3 separate regions of the Homo sapiens genome follow, and regions 1 and 2 are each linked to region 3. Evidence: promoter capture Hi-C in 16 types of primary human blood cells and fetal thymus (Javierre and others, 2016). All regions are on one chromosome and are shown on one strand. Each heading gives the region's core, a stretch centred on a gene start or on the middle of the fragment in contact. The rest is flanking DNA. Distances are from core to core; before and after follow the strand shown. Region 1 overlaps TG (thyroglobulin). Region 2 overlaps PHF20L1 (PHD finger protein 20 like 1). Region 3 holds the start of NDRG1 (N-myc downstream regulated 1).

The links. The method cuts DNA at HindIII sites, captures the fragments that hold promoters and counts their contacts. A CHiCAGO score of 5 or more calls a contact.
Region 1: a fragment that was not itself captured here is called in contact with the fragment with the promoter of NDRG1 in region 3 in 1 of 17 cell types (monocytes); the score reaches 5.1 in monocytes.
Region 2: a fragment that was not itself captured here is called in contact with the fragment with the promoter of NDRG1 in region 3 in 2 of 17 cell types (activated CD4 T cells and naive CD4 T cells); the score reaches 5.4 in activated CD4 T cells.

The regions. Positions count from the first base shown.
Region 1 is chr8:132,893,495-132,897,101 of GRCh38, forward strand. It overlaps TG (thyroglobulin), which reads left to right. Exons shown (of 48, transcript NM_003235.5): 11 at 196-435. Among named protein-coding and RNA genes, the nearest start is that of TG, 28 kb to the left of the region's middle. The HindIII fragment of the contact is 3,176 bases long and covers 764-3,607 here.
Region 2 is chr8:132,843,311-132,847,154 of GRCh38, forward strand. It overlaps PHF20L1 (PHD finger protein 20 like 1), which reads left to right. Exons shown (of 21, transcript NM_016018.5): 20 at 846-1,008; 21 at 2,471-3,844. The coding sequence ends at 2,613. Among named protein-coding and RNA genes, the nearest start is that of TG, 22 kb to the right of the region's middle. The HindIII fragment of the contact is 777 bases long and covers 1,311-2,087 here.
Region 3 is chr8:133,295,579-133,299,211 of GRCh38, forward strand. It overlaps NDRG1 (N-myc downstream regulated 1), which reads right to left and starts at 1,674. Exons shown (of 16, transcript NM_006096.4): 1 at 1,556-1,674. RefSeq lists a silencer at 1,555-2,004. The HindIII fragment of the contact is 9,218 bases long and covers 1-3,633 here.

The DNA of each region.
Region 1 (3,607 bases), core at 1,102-3,601, 400 kb before region 3:
GTGGTGTGTATCAGTGTGTGTGAGGGGGTGGTGTGTATGTGTGTGGTGTAGGGGGGTGGTGTGTATGTGTGTGGTGTGTGTGTGTGGTGTGTGTGTGGTGTGTATGTGTGTGCGTGAGGGCACACATGCTTCATGGGAGTCAGAGGGAAGTCCACGTGGTGAGTGAGTCCATCTGTGTTATTTTTATTCCCCTAGGTCCTGGCTCCTGTGAGGAAGCAAAGCTCCGTGTACTGCAGTTCATTAGGGAAACGGAAGAGATTGTTTCAGCTTCCAACAGTTCTCGGTTCCCTCTGGGGGAGAGTTTCCTGGTGGCCAAGGGAATCCGGCTGAGGAATGAGGACCTCGGCCTTCCTCCGCTCTTCCCGCCCCGGGAGGCTTTCGCGGAGCAGTTTCTGCGTGGGAGTGATTACGCCATTCGCCTGGCGGCTCAGTCTAGTGAGTGTGGTGCCCTTCAGCTTTCTTACTGCATCGCTTTGGAAAAGCAGGAGCTTAAATTCGTCTCTCCTCAGTCATCCTTAGGACTTTGTGGTTTGGCTTCCCCAGACTGATGGGTTCTTGGGAAGGAAAAGGCAAAGTGGTTTGGGGGCACCAGTCAAAGCTGGAATGCTGCACGCATCTCTAAAATGCTCCTTAATTCTCCAGCGAATCTACCCTAGGGCAGGTTTCAGATGGCACCTGCCGCTCCCACAAAGCCAATATTCTTGTTAAAATGCGAGGGACCCAAGCCCGTGAATGCTCAAACACCCCTTACGGCCTGCTCCAAAGCTTCCCTCCATTTCCAGGGATTCAGGAACACCACACAGCAGGAGGGGAGAGGAAGCCTCGATATTAAGTAACTATGACACATTGATCTCATCTGATCCTGAGAGTAACTCCAAAAAGCAGGAATTACTACCTGCATGCGACAGAGGCATAAGCTCAGGGAGCCTGCAGTCCTCTGGTCTATAATAACAGCTGAACAGTATGCTTTTTTTTTTTTTTTGAGACGGAGTCTTGCTCTGTCACCCAGGCTGGGGTGCAGTGGCACAATCATAGCTCACCACAGCCTCGAACTCCTGGGCTCAAGCAATCCTCCCACCTCAGCCACCTGAGTAGCTGGGACTACAGGTGTGTGCCACCACATGCAGCTAATATTTGCACATTTTTAGTAGAAACAGGATTTCACCATGTTGGCCAGGCTGGTCTCGAACCCGTGACTTCAAGTGATCTGTCTGCCTCGGCCTCCCAAAGTGCCAGGATTACAGGCATGAGTCACAGCCCTTAACCAGCTAAACAATATTCTAACTTCACCTTTGAGCAGGCACTTACTGTGCTAAGTAGATTATCAGATCTTCACATTTAATCCTCTGACAGCTCCAGGAGAATGATGGTATAATCACCATCCACAATTCTTTGCAAATGGGGAAATGGAGTCTGAGGTTAAGTCACTTGCCCGAATTCACACAAGTGATAACCAGTGGGCCTGGATGGGAAGCCCAGAGACCTGGTCCTCCAGTTCATCTCTCCTGTTCCCTGCCAGGCAGATTCCAGGTATTGCTGAGGTCAGTGCCTAGCTCTGCCTCATCCTAGAGCCCTTGTTCTTCCTCCATAACCTCACAGCTGCTCTGGCAGGAGAACAGGTCCCTTCCAAGATTTCTCACTGACCCCACATCAACTTGACAAGGACAAATGATTAATCTGTCTTTGAATCTTACTCAGGATCCCCATCCCTGTCAAATGGTCTCAGCTGATTCCCTGTCTAGCTTTCTAGGCTTGAGTCACCAAACAGCAAGACAGTCCTCCCCTGACAACATCTGCTCCAAGTCAAAGAGAATCCCTCCAGCAGGAGGGCAGCTCCCTGCCTTCCCATCCACGCCAGCAGGCACTCCAGGGTGTCTATGGCCAGCGTGGGATTGGGTCTCAGTGATCTTTGTTCTCCTAATACCACGTGACAATCTCATGTGTGCCATCTTTGTTTCCTGCTTCTCTCTCACACCAGACATCTCTTTTGGAGAACAAGGCACTGTGTCTTATTCTTTCTATATCCCTGGTGCGTGGCACAGTGCCTGACACCTACAAGGAGCTGAGTAGCTGGTGGTTAACCATCCTTATTGCTTTCTTCCTCCCTTCTTTCTCTCTCTTCCGTCCACTACCCTCACCCTATGCCTAGGCACTGCTTTTCTCTGTTCCTCAGAGACTGGGAGACTTCTGCTTTTGGGAAGAACCATGTTGTTTTACATTTTTGTACAAAGACAGGATTTGAGGTAATCAAAGAGAGAAGTGGGATTGGTGCTCCTTCAGTTGTGACCACTTTGGTCAGGGAGGGAAATGTCGAGAAAGGGGAGGCAATGTTGCTGGTGCTGTTGAGATTAGTCATTGAATGGCATGTTGGCATTTTCTTCAGAAGTCGAGCTGAGAAGTTCCTCTCCAAGTAGCCACATGCTCCGCTTTGCATGTCTGAGCTTGTAGAGGAAAGAGGAAGGGACCATAGAGGACCAGGCCTGGTCTTTTCCCTGAGAGTCTGGGGATTGAGGGCCCAGAGCGAAGTGCCTTTGGCCACTAGAACATGGTAGCCATGTCTGAGGGCCTAATGAGCGTGGCGAAGGCCATGGGAGGAAATGCACACCGCTGTGTCTGGCAAGCACTTGGTGTTTAACACCTATCAGCTCCTTTGATGTAAATATCACAGTTGTCTTGTTAGGTGAGTGTTAGACCCATTCCATAGATGAGGAAACTGAAGCTCAGAGAGGTTGGGCAACTTGCTCATGATCACAGTTAGGAGGCGCAGTGCCGGGATTCAGAAGGAGGCCTGGCAGACTCCAGAACGCTGTCCACTGTATGGGGCTGCTTCAGAGGTCGGTCCTGGTGTCCCCAGATGGGCTCTGACTGTGAGTTGGTGGCATCCTTGTATCTGCAAGCTCTCTCGTCTGGAGCCATGAAGCCTGTTTCTGAAAGGTGGGGAGTGGGGAGAACTGTCCCAATGAACTGCAGGTGACTGCCAATGGTGCTGCCACAGATATTCCCGTTCTCCCTCCAGGATCCTGGTGAGGAGCCCCAACCTGCCCCAAGTGCCAGCAGGAGTGGAGAAAGAGCTCAGGCGACAGTTCATGGCCACTTAGGAGGAGGGTGGTGGTTGTGGCAAATCAGACTGGGCCTGGTAAGACCCACACCAAACTGATGTGTGTCCCACCCGCTGCCCACCCTTGCTTCTTCCTCTCCCCCTCATGCATTCATTCACGCTTTTTTCCCAATCGGTGATTTCTTGAGTGCCTACTATGAGCCAGACACTCCTCTACATGCAAAATAAACACAAATCTCTGCACCAAAGAGCTTAAATGCTAGTGCGGAGGAGACAAATCTAACACAATAAATGGGAACACTATGTACTATGTTGGTGGTGGGGAAAGCCATGTGCAAAGCCCAGTGGGTCGGGGACTGCAAGAGCTGAGGACAGATGCAGTTTCATTAGTGGGGTGGCCAGTGGTTCATCATATAACCTCCCTCGCTGAGCCTCTGTGTCCTCACCTGGGGTAAAAGTTCTGGCTTCATGGAGCTGCTGTGAAGATCTGATATGATTTTTGTGGATATCCAAGTTTCAAAGGGGTTAAAAACTAAACTGTAGGAGTTT
Region 2 (3,844 bases), core at 449-2,948, 450 kb before region 3:
TTCAGTAAGGTGAATTCTGACAGATCTATGTGCATTGGACATCTATAAACTTATTTCCTGTTCACTGGGATTATCTTAGAAATGTACCTTTATTTTTTACTGATTTTCAATTAATGAGGCCACTTTAAAATTAGATGTTTTTTTTCTGCATTCCTTAACAAGTAATTACCATAAATAAGTACTTAAGTGAATTGGAACGTTTGTATTTCGTATCATAAAGTTTGTGGTAAGTTATTTTGTTTAATTAATATCCCATGTGCAAAATGAGTTATCTCTGGCAAATCCAAACGCACATTGTGTGTGTGTGTGTGTGTGTGTGTGTGTGTGTGAAGCAGTTTGTACTTTTGAAACTTGTAAAAGGTTTTTGCCTTTCCCTCCCTTCATTGATTTACTGTACTATAACAGTAAAGTCCAGTCTGTAGTTAATTAGATTTTATACTGGTCTTTGGAAACGCTCTTGATTTCTTTTCATCATTGCTTTCCACTCTTATGTCCACTTATATCACCAGCTGAGATTAATTGAGGAAGAGGCCAGTCTAAATTAATCAGGAATTCTAATTACACAATAGAATTAGTGACTTCATTTATTTAGCGCATTTTATTGAAGCCTTCTTGCCTGTGTAGCACCATGCGAGGCATAGTGGAGGGAGGTGGTGGGTGCATCAGCTCTTAAGAACCACCAGCTGGAATTTGGTTATGTAGCAGTACTTCTTTAAAGATACCCCTGGAGTCAGATTGGATCTCACTAACTGTTACCAGTGATGAGGTGTTTCCTGTATCCTTAACTCAATGACTGCATTTCATCCCGTTCTTTGTGTTTATTTTCCAATGGTCCTTTGGAGAAGAATCCAGCTGAAGGGAATACAGTATTTGTTTATAATGATAAAAAGGGCACCGAAGACCCAGGAGACTCACATCTTCAGTGGCAGCTCAATCTCCTTACACACATAGAAAATGTGCAGAACGAAGTTACCAGCAGGATGGACCTAATAGAAAAAGAAGTCGATGGTAATTTAAGAAAGAACTAAAATACAGTTACTATAGTGAATTTATTGTTACTATGAAGAAGTTACTTAAAATTCTTAAATTATGGGATGAAAACTGCAGATACTCTCCATACCGATGGGGCTTTATTACTCCCTTTGTATTGTATTTAACACATTTGGGATCTTTTACGCTTAAAACAATGTGACCGGGTATGACCTTAGGTTGTTTTTACTTTTTTAAGGTGGATATTTATTAAATACTGTCTATTTGCCAGGCTCCAGATAGATCACTTATGGAATAAATTGATTAGTTTCATTGAACTAAGCTTTCTTTGGAAGTCAACATAAGGAATTTAAGCATGTTTGAAATGTGAAAACATTTTGAATATTTTTTACTTTGGTTAGCACTTGTTAAATTAACAAAAACTTCTACAAAGTTAAGTAGGTAAACCTTAAGTGGTTTTCTTTTATATTTTAAAATTGTGTCATCACACAGGAGGCCTGAAAAGTGGGCAAGAAAGATACTATCACTACTTTATAGTTGAGAAACTAGAGTAACTTAGACTACCTGATTCTCAGTCCATGTTGTTCTTAATGCTTTCTGACTCCTGTTTCTTCCTAACATCATAGACGATATTCTGCACCCCAACTTTACTTTTTTTAATTTGGCATAAGCACGTGATACCTCTCCTCTACACTAAGTTAGAGCTCCTACTCCTTTTTTTCCCCCTTGAGAGAAGAAGAGAGAAAATGGAAACCCATTTTAGAAGCCTCTTCCATCTGGGTATAAGCTAACTGTAGAGTTAATGTGATGTTTTGAGTCCATGTTTGAAGAAAAGAAAATGCATCTTGATACTATTTCATATTATTAGGGTAGATTTCCAAAGGAAACATTAATAAAAACTATAGAATATAATCAATTGCATTCTGCCTACAATTTTAATACGCTTGCATGTCTTTTAAAAAGTAGTGTTAAAATAGTGGAACTGAAAAGAACACTGAGAAATTGCTACTTCCTTTTCTTTGTTAAGAAGAGCTTCTGGATTAAAAAATATGATTAGGTATGTTTTATGTAGAGATGACGAGTCTAAATTAATAGAAAGCTTGAGCAAACATAGGGAACTGTTGTTATCTTATTCCAGAAGTGAGTAAAAGGAGACCTTCAAAATGAAGTTAGTGTGTGTATATGTTTATGTGTGTGTGTATATGTATTTTCCCCCTTATATATAAAAATACATAATTCCTATATATATAAAGGGGAAAATTATCTTAAATGACAGATAAAAATTGCCAAGAGGGACTAGAACTCTGTGGGGTGGGATGACAGGACGCTAACCTCTCGGAAATGTCTTGAGTATGTTGGCCTTCTAAAGATGGGGAAGTGAACCCTTAACTCCATCACAGCTCCAACTTTCTGATTGTTTCATTTTCTGACTGTTCTTCCAGTTGCAGTTTAAATTTGTTTATCTTCTTCTCTCTTTTAGTTCTGGAAAGCTGGCTTGATTTCACAGGGGAGTTGGAGCCACCAGATCCTCTTGCAAGATTGCCCCAACTTAAACGCCACATAAAACAGCTCCTAATTGACATGGGCAAAGTACAGCAGATAGCAACTCTTTGCTCTGTATGACAACAGTGAACACTTAATGAAAGAATGTGGCTTTCTTCAGTCAAAGCATTTTTATTATCCACGTGATGGCTAAGTGGATAATTTAAAAGCTTAGTAATGTCTGGTCATTCACTGATTTGTGATGTCAATAGGATGGCACCTTGGAAAGAAAAATGAAGAACAACTTTATCAAGGAAGCTAGTATTTAAAAACAAATTCATGAGCAAGCTGCAAATGAGAATGTGTTATATGCCAAGGAACAATGAAGTAGAATATAATGTATACTAAGGGATTTCAAGTTCTCAGAATTTTTGAGTAGTTGCTTACGTGAAGCTCAAGATACCTGTAGAAAGAAATATGGTATATTTGTATAGTTTTTAATAGAAAGATCTATGTTTATAAACCAGCACTTGGCCAAAAACAAAATTGTAAAGGAAATTTAAATTCTGGAGAATTCTACAGGGTTGCTCTAAGAACTGTCTTCTCAGCAGTTGATCCAGCTGTACGGAAATTTAGGGTATTTAAACTTTTAAAGGATCATGAGCTGTTTCTTGGGCGATGAATGTTCTCAATCAGAAAACTGACAGTAGAAATCTCACTTCTGGGGAAAACAGTTGTGGAATTCTTACTTCATTATGAATGTATTTAAAAAACAAACACCAAATAATTGGAATATATTGCAGGCATTAAGCTCATTAAAAACAAACTGGCTTGCAGAAGGGTCCGATGTGCCAAGTGATCATGATTCTGCTGGAAAGAGGATTTTAAATATTGTGGGAGTTCTCCCACCCTAAGTCTTACATAATGCCACCAGTCCATCCAAAACCTATATATCACCTATACTATATATATCATATATATAGTTGAATGGCAGTATTCAGGCTCAACGTACAGTTTGATCCTGAGTATGCTTGGTGTTTGCCTTCAGAAAAAAAAAAATACATTGTAAATAACCTCAGCTGGGATGAGGAGTGACAGAATATCAAAATAATTTGTGGCTGTGGATTTTTTTAACTGCTAGTAGTGGAATACTGGAAAAGCTTCATTTCTGAAGATGAATTTTATTTTTAAAAAATACATGCACACTCAAAACTTTTAGCTTTGATCACAAGTGGACAAATTTCTGAAACCAAAGGCAACTAAGTTGCTGTGTTAGCTCTTGCTGGATTTTGAGCCTAGGTCCTACTGTCTGCCAGTACTCATGTGAGTTGTATGTGCCCCCAGTGCTACATACGCAGGTATGCGTAAGTGT
Region 3 (3,633 bases), core at 424-2,923:
CCCTCTGTACCTTGCTTATTTCAATCACATTTGTGAAACTCAATAAGAACGCCAGAATTTCTCAACAGGAAGAGTCTAGACTGAAAAATTCGCCTTGAAACTACATTTCTGCAGCAAGAACAGGGGGTTTGTATTTAGATATGTTCTTTTGAGGCAGCTTAGGAGAAGGTCCCGTGCAGCTGATGGGTATTATAAGGATGTCTACCGCCCTCCTGCCTGGCCACTGGCTGACTTCTGAATATTAGATATTTCCCAGTAGCTTAAAGAAACCAAACAAACTGAAGTGCCCCCAGCGTCCGTGAGGAAGGGGTGTTCTTGGATGGGCATAAGATAACCAAGGGCCCTGCCTCCCCCACCCACTGCCAGGCATCTCCCACTTCCAAGCCACAGAGGCGTGCTGTTCAGGACCCCCAGGGACAGCAGGGACAACAGGCGGGGGATATGGGGGAGGGGTGGGTAAGGAACCGACCCACTAAATCCCAGCTCCAGCTACTAATTTGACAGAGGCGTGACAGCGTGTTTCCCCCAGAACCAGCCGCATTCCCCAAGCCCAGCCCGAAATCTCCTCCCGAGGCTGAATCAGAGACCGCGGCGGATCCCCCAGGAACGTCGAAGTAATTCCAGCTGTTTTCCCCCGTGGAGGGCAGGAGCGGCCAGCACCAGAGGCAGGGGAGGGGAGGAAAGCGGGGGAGGGTGGGCGGAGGCGAAAATGACGCCACTCCTAGCTCCAGCCAGCTCAAGGGGCCGCCAAATGTCCGCGAGACCCCTCTCGCCCAGGTCACTTCTCCCACGCCGCCGATGCGCCAATCCCGGGTTCCTCCGGGGGCGCACCCTGCCCAGTGGCGCTCGCAGACACTTGCTCCGGCTCGCGTGTTGCACTGTGACACACCCTGGACCCTCCCCCCACACACACGCTTACACTCACACATGCACACCGCCCTGTGTGTGCTACGGGACTGAAGCGCCACCAGCCTCTCGGATCCACACCCGTTCCCGACCCAGTCTGCAAGCCAGACACACCCACGCCCCCCTCTCCAGCCTCCTTGCCAGCGCCACTCACCTCTACCAACCCCTCATCTACACACTCGCGCGCAATCTCTCCGTTCCCAGACACAGACACACACACACACACACACACACACACACACACACACTCACCTAGTCCCTTCTGCACCCACGTCCAGCGCGCACCCCTGCCAGCGGCGCCAGCTGGGATTCGGAGACGACGCCAGGAAACGCTATCCTGGTATTTTTTCGGACCGTCTCATCGCCCCCTTCCCGACCTCCAGAACCCCAATCCCCAGCTAGGGGGGAGATGAATGGGACCCTGTCTTTTTTTCCTCCCTTTCCGTAATTGAACCCCCCACTTCAGCGGTGTCTGCACCCAAAGCCCCCTCGCGCCCGCGCCCCGGGGTGACCGCGCACTTGCAGCTCCGGGGCGCTTACTCCTGGAGTACGCGGGGCTACAAAGGGCGGTCCTGGCGCTCCAGCGGCACCGCACGGGCGGCCCCTTTCTGCTCCGCGTCGCGCCTGGGAGAAGAGGGCGCGGGCTTACCTAACGCGAGGGAGAAAGGAAAGGACGGTGCCGAGGCTGGCGGCCCAGCGCCCCGCGGAAGCCGAGGGCGGATGGTGAACTGACGAGCTTCAGCACCAGCTGGGAGCCAGGCGAGGTTTGTTTACGTCCGGGCGGAGGGCGACTTTATAGGCGCCGCGGCCCCGCCCCCGCGCCTCGCCCCTCCCAGACCCTCGCAGTCCCAGCACGCAGCCGGGACACACCCCTTCCCCGCTCCCTGCTCCCTCCTCCCGGGCGCGCCGGGCTGGGCTGGGCTCCGGCAGCGCGCGGCGGGCGCCCACTGGAGCCGCCGCCTGTTGCGCAAGCAGTCGTAGGGGCGCGGCCGGGAGGGGCATCGGGGCCCGGGTTGTGGGTCGGCTCTGCAGTCCCCTCCGAGTCCAGGGCCTCGGCCTGTGCAGCGGGCGCGTGTGCCCTGCCCGGAGGAGGCGTTTGTGTGCTTGTGCGTGTTCATGTGCGCGCTCGTGCGTGTGCATGTGGACTTCCTTGTGTCTCCGTATGGGCGGAGGCCCCCCATCTCTGCCTCAGAGTTTCTTCTAAGAGTCTCGTTGCGCCACGCCCTGAGCGACTCCCTTCACTTCCTGTAGGTCTCACCAGCTCGGCTCTCCAGCCGGATTCGGCTGCCTGCCCAGCAGCCGCCTTCGCTTTCGCCCGACAGGCTCCCTCCGATTCTCAGCCTTCCGTGTCGCCAAAGCTCTCGCTGAAATCCTCGCTCCCGTTTAATCTCGTCCATCTTGCCCACCGCCGCCCAGCGCTTACCCTTCCCCTCATCTTCCCAGTTCTAAGCACACTCACTGGACCTTGCCCACTGGGCTCTTCTCTCCTGCCCCACAAGCCCAGATGAGAGGATTCTCACCCCTTCCTATTCTGATTTCCTGAACTTTCATGACTCACCCTTTCCAACCTTAGCACCGTCCTGCTCTGCTGCTCTGTTTGTGCGTAACTATTGGCCTGCATGTTCCCATCTGGCCAAAGAAACCAGCAATTCTCAACCCCTACTGCATATGAGAAGTCCCAGAGGAGCCGCCAAATTAAAAAATAAATAAATAGATAGATAATAAAAAGAGAGAGATGGACTCCAGAACAGTTTAATCAGAATCTCAGGGGGTGCAAACCAACTGGGCATTGGGGTTTTTACAAAGCTACCCAGGTGGCTCCTGACGTGCAGCCAGGTTGAGAAGCACTGCATGGAGGAACATGATTTTATGAATAAAGGAAGTCTGACTCACAGCTGGCACCGTCATTGTCCTCAGGCCACCTGCCCAGCGTTGAATTTGCCACTGAGCCCAGGACCAGACCCAGGGCAAGCTCAGGTGACCCTCCCTGCGCCTCCACAGACACACACGCGCGCACGCACAACACTTCCTGCTGAATTGTAAACCTCTTTTCTGTGCCAACCCATGCTGTCCCCAAGGCAGGGGCCATGGCTTTCCCCTCTGATTATTAGGGCCAGTTTTGGAGAAGGGTTTTCTGGAACAAAAGAAATATGGAGAGGGGCAAACAGCACCTCTAGGACCCAGGACATCTGTGTTTCAGGCCTGTCTTTGACACTATCGATCACAAATCAACAAATCTGGGCTTCAGAATTCTCACTGGCAAAGGGAGAGGATTAGATTCAATGATCTTTCAGAACCTATCTAGTGCTAAAGCTCTGTTATTCTATTACAAATGACCAGTGTGAAGAACAGAGTTCCAGTGTCATGGGTTTTGCTGCTAGAAGAGTTTGGCTAAACTACAAAGTTTGGCTATTAGCTATGAAGTTTGGCTAAACTACAAAGTTTGGCTACATTCAAGAATGCCTTGAATGTAGGAGCACATTCCCCCACCCTAGAAAATTTAACATCTAGAATTAATAAGTGAATGAATGACCACTGGGCAGTCTTCCATTCTTTATGGATTTGAACTAGTTCAACTGCAGCATTCCCAGTGAGGGAAAATTTTTCTTATTTCAAATAAAATGTTGTGTCCAGGTAGAGTGGCTTACACCTGTAATCCCAGCACTTTGGGAGGCCAATGCAGAAGCCTCTCTTGAGTCCAGGAGTTTGAGACCAGCCTTCACAACA